2 separate regions of the Homo sapiens genome follow, and region 1 is linked to region 2. The links are contacts of gene promoters, found by promoter capture Hi-C in human tissues and cell types (Jung and others, 2019). All regions are on one chromosome and are shown on one strand. Each heading gives the region's core, a stretch centred on a gene start or on the middle of the fragment in contact. The rest is flanking DNA. Distances are from core to core; before and after follow the strand shown.

Region 1 (4,895 bases), core at 651-3,150, 190 kb before region 2:
TAGATAACTTCCATGTAAAATTTTACTTGCCAAGATACAGAATTTTCCTTTGGTGGTCTATGAAGCCTTGGTTTTATTTTCCCAAACAAAAAAAAAAAAAAACCTGAGTTAATGGGCATCATACTCACTTTCATTAACTGGCAGAATTTGCAGGATAATTGCCCAGAACTAGCATATTGATTCAGATTTTTACATTACCCATCCCTTTTTATTTCTTCCAAACTGTAGGGGATTACCACTTGATTCACAGGAATAAGCAGAGTTAGTATAATATGTAGGCAAAAAGCTTAAAAACAATTGATGAGACTAGGATTTAATGAGAAATGTATAGTAAGTTTTGGAGAAATGTATGATAAGCTTTGGAGCACAGTTTTTCTCTCCAGTCCTCATTTTTGATAAAAACAAATTATGATAGGCCCGTGTGTGTTGTCTGTAGAATAAACTTTAGTCCTATACATGGCCTGATTGTTTGCATAAAGTGCAGCAAGAAAGGTTATTTCTACACAGGCCTTTTGGATTGGCTTCGATGAAACTGTTCTACAAGGAATCTCAGATAAGACCTTTTAAAGCCAAGCCCAGCCATGGGTTTGTATCCTCAAATACCTGTGAGTTGGGTGATCCTCTCCTCTTGAGGCCCCAAGATAAACTCGGAGCTCCCAGACCTATTAGAAAGTGACACTCTTTACTGACCACAGGTTAGGAATCTTGTGCAGGGACTGTGCAGACAAGGTATGAGGCCAGTTCTCCCCAAGGGGCTTTTATTTGCTCTGCATGTCAAGCTTGATTCCTTAAAAGGAAACACACCCTCAAGCCTTGGTTAAAATAACCAGTTTTTCCAATGTGTCCTGTTGACAAAGAAAAATGGATTCTTATTGCACTGATGCAAAGAGCTATATTGCCGTTAAGTTAAGAGTACAGCTAGTCTCCAAATTCTAGAGGAACCAGGCAGAGACAAATAAATATGCTCCAAATTTTGTTCACAGGAGTATACCTTACTCAATTATTAAAGGCCATAAATAGTTTAAAACTTTTCTTGACTCTGAAAAACAAAACAAGGATCAGCAATATTCCAAGCAAAGTTAAAAACTCTGCTTTAACTTTCTGAGTGCAGTCCATTTACTTAACTCTTGTTTTGCTTGATATTTATGAACATATTAGTTCTTTGTGAGTCCCATACATTCTCTCTCTATTCCAATGTTACAATCTTTAAAGCTATTAAAAACCTGCATTTGAGAACACCTGTTGAACTCCTTAATAGAGCTTGATTATAAACCATTTTTTGAAAAGGAACAAAGCAGGACAACAATTGTCTGTGAATGACAAAATTTTCAGGATAGTTAAAAACATGACTGACAAAGAAGTTTATTTATCTTCATGGTTTACAATAACTTTACCCTTAATTATGATTGATAGCATATACTTAGACATTAGAATCTTAGAAATCCCATACAATTCTGAAACATATATTAGTATTATTCACCAAACTATAACTTAAATAAGATTGGACATCATTTTGGCAATCTCATGTGACTAAACATGTCAAATAATCCTGTTTACCTCTTTTCTGAATGTTTCAGGGCCCCTCTAAACCATTCAAAAAGTTAGGTATCAGGAAGGACAATTTCCAGATTGCCATAAATTATTTTGCCAAAATGATGACTCAAAAGGCAAAATCCTTTCATTAGCCTTTATTATGAAATGAAAATCTTGTTCAAAGCAAAATTTTACCCTTGCATTAGTTTATTAATGTTAACCCCAATTTGTTTACACGAAACCTTATAGATTATTCCATCAAATCCTAACCAATTTGACCATGAGGTGAAATCTTTTTTTTTCTTTTTTTTTTGAGATGGAGTTTCATTCTTGTTGCACAGGCTAGAGTGCAAGGGCATGATCTCAGCTCACTGCAACCTCCGCCTCCCAGGTTCAAGCGATTCTCCTGCCTCAGCCTCCCAAGTAGCTGGGATTACAGGCATGTGCCACCACCCCTGGCTAATTTTGTATTTTTAGTAGAAACGGGGCTTCTCCATGTTTGTCAGCCTGGTCTCGAACTCCCGACCTCAGGTGATCTGCCCGCCTCGGCCTCCCAAAGTGCTGGGGTTACAGGTGTGAGCCACCGCACCCGGCCAAGGTGAAATCTTTACAAACCTTTTATAACCCTTTTACTAAGGGGCAGATTAGTGTCTTAAGACCTCCTTGCTATGCTTTTATTTTAATGCTTAATTTATGAAAAGACCATATAGATACTATGGGAGAGGACGGTGTAGTGCTTCTACCATGCATTGCATTGCAAGGCAGCCCAAAGCCAATTGGCTTATTTTGTAATTAGCCCATCCCTGATGGGAGTCTCATCTCCCAGTGCAGGGTGAGGATGTTTCCTTATCTTCCAGGTGGCCAAGAGCATCCCTGATTTATAACTACTATTAGCCATCCCTTACAGTGTATTTTCTACTTGATTATTACACACCAAAGCTTTCTTGTAAAAATGCGAAGTAATTTCTGATACCCCCAAAACTCAAAACCATCAGATAACACAATGCAAAACAGAACAGAGCCTTTGATTTTGAGAGGGAATTATTTGCTTTTAATTCCTGGGGTTTCATGAGGAAAACAGAGGGTTTTTTCCCAAAACGGGGTCTGTGGCGCCTCCTCTGTGTTTCCTGAGGAGTCCCATGCTACCAGAAGTTATCTTAGGGCCTTTTATACATGCATTAAGAGTAGTAAGACAAAAAATGGAGAAAAATAATTCAGTCGGCTGAGATGAGCCTTTTTCCAGAAAAACAAGATTCAAGAAAAGAAAAAACATAAAGGCCTTTTAATATACCTATAACTTGATTTTCCACTTTTAATTAAGCTGAGCACTCTTTAAGAAAATTCTTCTAAATCCTTTGTTACTTGACCTTAGCCATGCCAAGCAGTTAAGATTTTTGGCTTTTGAACTTTACAATAAGTAACCTCACAGGTAAAACTAAAGAGCTTTAATTAGGTTATGACTTAACCAGGAGTGTAAAAGGTATTTTTAAAGGAGTGACAGGCAGCTTTTTTTTTTTTTTTTTTTTTTTGCTGAGACAGAGTCTTGCTCTGTCACCCAGGCTGGAGTGCAGTAGCATGATCTTGGCTCACTGCAACCTCTGCCTCCTGGGTTCAAGCAATTCCTCTGCCTCAGCTTCCTGAGTAGCCAGGACTACAGGTGCATGCCACCACGCCTGGCTAATTTTTGTTTTTTTAGTAGAGACAGGGTTTCGTCATGTTGACTAGGCTGGTCTTGAACTCCTGACCTCGTGATCCACCCGGACAGGCAGCTTTTGAAACTGTCACTGCAAAATTGTGACTGAGACAGTGGAAGAGATCTCACCCAAACAACTCCATTTTGTTTCCAGTCCCCAAACTGTCCTTGCCCATCCCCGGGCATAGGCTGAATCAAGTTGGGGAGGAGCTTGGTTTACAGTTTATAGTCTAAAACAAAGAAGATAGCAGCTGCTTCTCAAGATATACTTCCCTTTTGCCTGGGGACCAGACCAAGAAACTAGCTACAGGATTAGAAACCATGGCCCAAGAGCCATGCAATTGGAGGCTACAAGATTTTGACCCTCCCTAAACGGCTGTTATGATCAGTGCTTAAGATGTTTTGTAAACCCTGCCCTTGATGGATCAGCTGACACAGCCCAGACTGACAAACTGGCTTATCTGATTTAGCACAAGAAGACAGCCACCATTGTAAAATGGCGGAGACAAAAACAAAGTATTGCCACATGGTTACAGATTATGTTCCCATGACATGAAACAAGATGGAGGCCTGTAGCCAAGTTTGCCACTGGATACTTTGCTGGGCTGGTTTGAACAGCAGGCTTATGGGTTTCTGGGCCTGCATCCTGACCTAAGATACCTTTTCTTTAACAGAACCACACAGAAAGACATACAAAGAAGAGCAGATTGTTTACAGCTTAAGACCAACCTCACAAATCCTTTTTCATTAACTATAAATTTAAAGAAAACATAAACAATGATCTTTATTATCCCTTTTGCCGGTTTCCACAGGAAGAGAGAAGCCAAAAGCCTGACTGGTAAGAAATTTTTACCCTTTTGCCAGCATATCAGGCTTCTGGGCTGGGTTTCCTTCCCCCTAGCTCAACTCTATGCCAAACATTTTAAGGTTTGGAAAATTAACCTTTTCCATGTTGGAAGAACATTATAAAAGAGAAGCCATTTTAAACTGCAAAACAAGGAAAAACACCACAGAAAGGAGTTCCAATTAGGGTTGTCAGGAGGTATTGCCTCTTTTCCTATTGGGAATGGTGTTTCCCCTTTGCCTTCCCTATTTTTTTCTTTTCCCTTTTGGCCTTCTATAGGAGACATTACTTATCTCCAAAATTTTCTTCTGCTTGCAGAGCTGCTTATTTTACCTACAGTAAGGGTTTGCCTTAGCAGCAACATAACATCCCTTCATGAGAGGTTACATACCTGAGTTAAATATTGGAAAGCTTCCATATACTTATTAAGGTCATCAGAAAACCAGCCTAAGTCTCCCTTTACTTGCCAAAGGTCCTGCAATGAGAAGGGAACTTGAAGGGGCCCCAAATAAGGGGGACCCTCAGATGACTTCCCTGAAAGTTACTTTTTAAATTTTGGGGTACTGTTTTCCCTGGGCCTGCCTGATATGACTGCAAAAGAAAATAAGCCACTTTTTCTTCAAAGTTTCAAGGTCGAAAGAGTCCTAGTGCTTCAAAATACACTCAAGAGAAGTGCATGTTGAAGATGGTCTGTTACCCATCTAGAAAGAGAAGTGAGAATAAAAGCGTCCTTTTAGTCTCCTTCCTTTTGGTATGAAATCCAGGATGGAGAAGAAAGCAGTAGGAGGCGTCCCCCAACTATTTTCTCTTTTGTTCCTGGATTCC
Region 2 (4,596 bases), core at 128-2,627:
CTGGGCAACATAGGGAAACCCGGTATCTACAAAACAACAATAGCAACAATTCGCTGGGGCGGGGGGGGGGGGGGGGGGGCGCCGCCTGTTGTTCCAGCTACTCAGCTACTCCAGAGGCCCAGGCGGCAGGATCGCTTGAGGCCAGGAGTTCTTGGCTACACTGAGCCGAGATCCCGCTACTGCACTCCAGTCTGTCAGATCCTGTATGGAAAAAAAAAAAAAAAGACAAAATAGTTAAACTATGCCTTTAATTCAATAAACTATTAAACTAACAATACCATGAAGAAAATCAGAATAAAGAAGAAAGATAGGCTGACGCAGGAGAATCGCTGGAACGGTGAGGCGGAGGTTGCGTGAACCGAGATCGCGCCACTGCACTCCAGCCTGGCGACAGAGTGAGACTCCAAAAAAGAAAAAAAAAAAAAAAAAAAAAAGAAAGATAGGCTGGGCCCGGTGGCTCAGGCCTGTAATCCCAGCGCTTTGGGAGGCCGAGGCGGATGGATCACCTGAGGTCGGGAGTATTCGGCACCAGCCTGACCAACATGGTGAAACCCCGTCTCTACTAAAAATACAAAATTAGCCGGGTGTGGTGGCGAATGCCTGTAATCCCAGCTACTCAGGAGGCTGAGGCAGGAGAATCGCTTGAACCTGGGAGGCGGAGGTTGCGGTGAGGCGAGATCGCGTCACTGCACTCCAGCCTGGGCAACAAGAGCGAAACTCGGTCTGAAAAAAGAAGAAGAAGGAGAAGGAGAAGAAGACTATCTGGGTTCCATCAACGATTCTCGTGCCTTTTGTCTTTAAACTTTGGTGCTGCCTTCATCAAAATCATACTAATGAAATTCGACGCGCGGGTCATTCATTTAATTAAAATGAAACCCCAAATCTGTTGACTATTGGTATCCTCATGACACTGTTCTATAATGTGACAGAAAAGACGAAGGTGAAGAACTATGGTTTCGGCCGCTGTTACACAGGAGGTAGCAGGTGGCAGGCCGTTTACACAAATTAGCTCGTTTTTGGAGACGAAGTTACCCCAGGCTGCCCGCTCGGATGAGCCTGCGAATTCAGGCCCAACCCAGGCCCCTCCAGGTCGGGAAGGTACGAAGAGCCCGCTGGATTCACACAGGGCAGGGGCGCCTTCGCAGGTGCGAGTGGATTCTGGGTATCGCGAGCGTAGGCCCAGGCGCAGCCCCTCTGCCTGCGGGACTGAACAGGCAGGTGCGTCCCAGCGGCCGGGCGGGCCGGGTCTCCCTCCTGCGGGCAGGCGCCGCGCTGCGGGGCGCGGCTGGCGGAGCGGGGCAGCCGGGCGCAGCGCCCCCTGGGCCTGAAGACTGGCGGGCGGCGGGGGCGCGCGCAGGCCGGCGGGGGCGCGCCGCGCTGCGAGGCCTGCGCGCCAGGCTGCGGGAGCCATGCGGCGATCGAGGAGCTCTGCGGCCGCCAAGCTGCGCGGGCAGAAGCGGTCCGGGGCCTCCGCGGCCCCCGCGGCCTCCGCGGCCGCTGCCTTGGCACCCAGCGCCACCCGCACACGGCGCTCCGCTAGCCAGGCCGGGAGCAAGAGCCAGGCGGTGGAGAAGCCGCCGTCGGAGAAGCCGCGGCTGAGGCGCTCGTCGCCGCGGGCCCAGGAGGAGGGCCCGGGGGAGCCGCCGCCGCCTGAGCTGGCGTTGCTCCCGCCACCGCCGCCGCCGCCGCCGACTCCCGCGACCCCGACGTCCTCGGCGTCCAACCTGGACCTGGGCGAGCAGCGGGAGCGCTGGGAGACGTTCCAGAAGCGGCAGAAGCTTACCTCCGAGGGTGCCGCCAAGCTCCTGCTAGACACCTTGTGAGTGCGGCGGGCCGGGGGGCGCGGGAGCCGTTGCCACGCGGACCCCCTCGGCAGGAGTCGGGCTCGCAGCCCGCGTGCAGGCCTTGGGCGCCTTTCAGCTCTGAGCCTTCCACGTTACGGAGCCGACGCGGCTCCCCCGTTAGCACTGGGGTTATTCCTTAATTCTAAGGGCGGCGGGGCGGGGCGGTGCTTCTAGGGCTGTGTGGCCTGGGAATGGAAAGGGGGCTTCGTCCGGAGCTTGAGGGCGCGCGCAGCCGTCTTGGGACACAAAGAGTCTTTCCCGGCCATAAGCATCGTGCTCGGGGACGTTGTCTCTTGCTGGCGCGCAAAGGGTGTGGGGGCCTTTCTTAGTGAAAAGAACATAAATCCCACGGCTTTCTCTTACCCGAATCCCCTTTTTTTTTGTGTTTGCACACGTGTTTTTGAGGGTGGGTGGAAGGGAAAGGTAGAAGCGTTGAAGGAAGCATGAATAGTTTTGAACTCACTGGGAAGCAAAATCCCGTCATTGTTCCAGGCACTGCCAGGGAGGGAGCAGGGGGCGGAGGTTATTGATCCGGGAGAGAAGCGCGCGCGAAGAGATGCTCCGGCCTCGCGCGGCGGCGGGGATACCTACGTAGGGAGGCTTTTATGTGCTCAGCCAGCTAATGCTCCCTGCCGCTCGCCCTCCTGGCTGCTCCGCAGTCTTTTAGATGGCCCGAGGAGCATCTCGAGTGTCCGCGATTTGGGAAAGAGCTTTTAACTGGGCTGTTAAAGGGCTGCCTTCTTTTCTCCAAATGCGATCTGGATTCCTGCCTCGGGGAACAGTTGTGCTACAGAGAGATATTTTAACGCCCTGATATTATATTTCAGTGTCAATTTTACGAATTAAAAAGAACAATCAAAACACTAGGGGGAAAAAACCGACAAGAATAACCTAGCAATTGCATAACCTGAGAATTACTTCTTTTCTTGAACATGTTCCTTTGAGCTTCTTGCGGAAGAAATTCTCTTAGGATGAGTCGTCCCCGACAGAAGATACATATTTGGTTTTCTGTGTGCTTCACTTTTTGGTTTTTCATCTTGGACTGCACACTGAATTTTTAAAAAACGTTCATCCATCAAACATTTGAGCACCTATAGGGTGACGGCTGCCTCTGGGCAGAAGGAATACGAAGATCCTTAGGAATGTAAAACTCATGGTGTCTTCAAGGCATACAGAAAAAAAGAAGAATGTAAAACTCAAATTTGAGATAAATTTTTATTTTAAGACAAACTGATAAATGGTCAAGAAAAAGTTTTAAAATATTGACATAAAAAAGCTGTTTTTCTCCCACTAGATTGCCATGACTTTGTACTTATAAAGTCTACTAAATTATATTCAAAAAGTGTGTATAACTGTACCATTTTCGTTAAAATATTGTGTAGAAAAAAGTTTGGGGGAATATATAACAAATAATTAACTGTAGATCCCTCTGGGTGTAAAGATTACAGGAGGCTTTCACTTTGAGCACTCTCAAATAGTGTGAAGTTTGGAGTTTTTACAATAAGCATTATGTGTGCAGAAAAAATTAAAATACATAAACGTAAAGAAACATGAAAAAATGATCAGTCTTAATCATGCAAATTAAAACTGCAGTGAGCTATTTTTCCTATAATTATTGCCTGAGACTGTACAGTGAAATGTTTTCTCATTTATTTATCGGGTAAGGGTGTTCAATCCTTTTGGAAAGCGATTTTAAGACATTTATCAGATCTTAATGTTCATTTCTGAGTTTGGCTTATATATAAGCTTTAAAGGGTTAAAATTGTATGTAGGCTGGGTGAGGTGGCTCATGCCTGTAATCCCAGCACTTTGGGAGGCCGAGGCGGGTGGATCACCTGAGGTGGGGAGTTTGAGACTGCCTGACCAACATGGAGAAACCCCGTCTCTACTAAAAATACAAAATTAGCTGGGTGTGGTGGTGGGCGCCTGTAATCCCAGCTACTCGGGAGGCTGAGGCAGGAGAATCATTTGAACCCTGGAGGTGGAGGTTGCGGTGGGCTGAAATCGCGTCACTGCACTCCAGCCTGGGCAACAAGAATGAAACTCCCTCTCAAAAAAAAAAAATTCTATGTAATGTGTATTACAACTATGTAAAACGCATGTGTATGAAGAATACTGGAAAGAAATAGAGCAAAAATATAAGAGCCTTTATTAAGTTTCTCAAAAGGCTCTTCTGGACCTCTGGACTTGATTGAGTACACAGTCTTATTTTTCATAGCAGCCTGTACCTCCTTTATCACAATCATAATTAATTATTATTTGAGTAAATTGTTAAGGTCGGTAAGGGTAGCAATCGTGTCTGCTGTATCTTGTTTAGTGTTCTCTCCTTCGTGCCTAGCTCATAAAAATATTTAGTATTTGAGGCCCGGAGCAGTGGCTCACGCCTGTAATCCCAGCACTTTGGGAGTCCCCGTGGGTGGATCACAAGGTCAGGAGTTCAAGACCAGCTTGGCCAAGATGGTGAAGCCCTATCTCTACTAAAAATACAAAATTAGCAGGGCGCGGTGGCAGGCGCCTGTAATCCCAGCTACTTGGGAGGCTAAGGCTGGAGAATTGCTTCAACCCAGGTGGCAGAGGTTGCAGTGAGCCAAGATCGTGCCACCGTACTCCAGCCTGGGCAATAGACTGAGACTCCATCTCAAAAAAAAAAAAAAAAATTTAGTATTTGACATATAAATAAAAATGTCTGGTGGTGGGTTAGGATCCCTCACATTTTCGAAATGTTTGGAATGTTTTATTTTGCAACTTAATA

Evidence for each region. The method cuts DNA at HindIII sites, captures the fragments that hold promoters and counts their contacts. A contact is called where the count stands out against the background at its distance.
Region 1: a contact is called between a fragment that was not itself captured here and the fragment with the promoter of CENPV in region 2, in 1 of the 25 tissues and cell types used here (psoas muscle).

Annotation. Positions count from the first base shown.
Region 1 is chr17:16,540,529-16,545,423 of GRCh38, reverse strand. It overlaps LOC105371554 (a long non-coding RNA gene), which reads right to left. Exons shown (of 4, transcript XR_007065637.1): 4 at 1,338-4,771. Among named protein-coding and RNA genes, the nearest start is that of ZNF287, 26 kb to the left of the region's middle. The HindIII fragment of the contact is 3,155 bases long and covers 323-3,477 here.
Region 2 is chr17:16,350,250-16,354,845 of GRCh38, reverse strand. CENPV (centromere protein V) reads left to right here and starts at 1,377. Exons shown (of 5, transcript NM_181716.3): 1 at 1,377-1,819. The coding sequence starts at 1,410. RefSeq lists silencers at 1,168-1,317, 1,378-1,987. The HindIII fragment of the contact is 38,840 bases long and covers 1-2,684 here.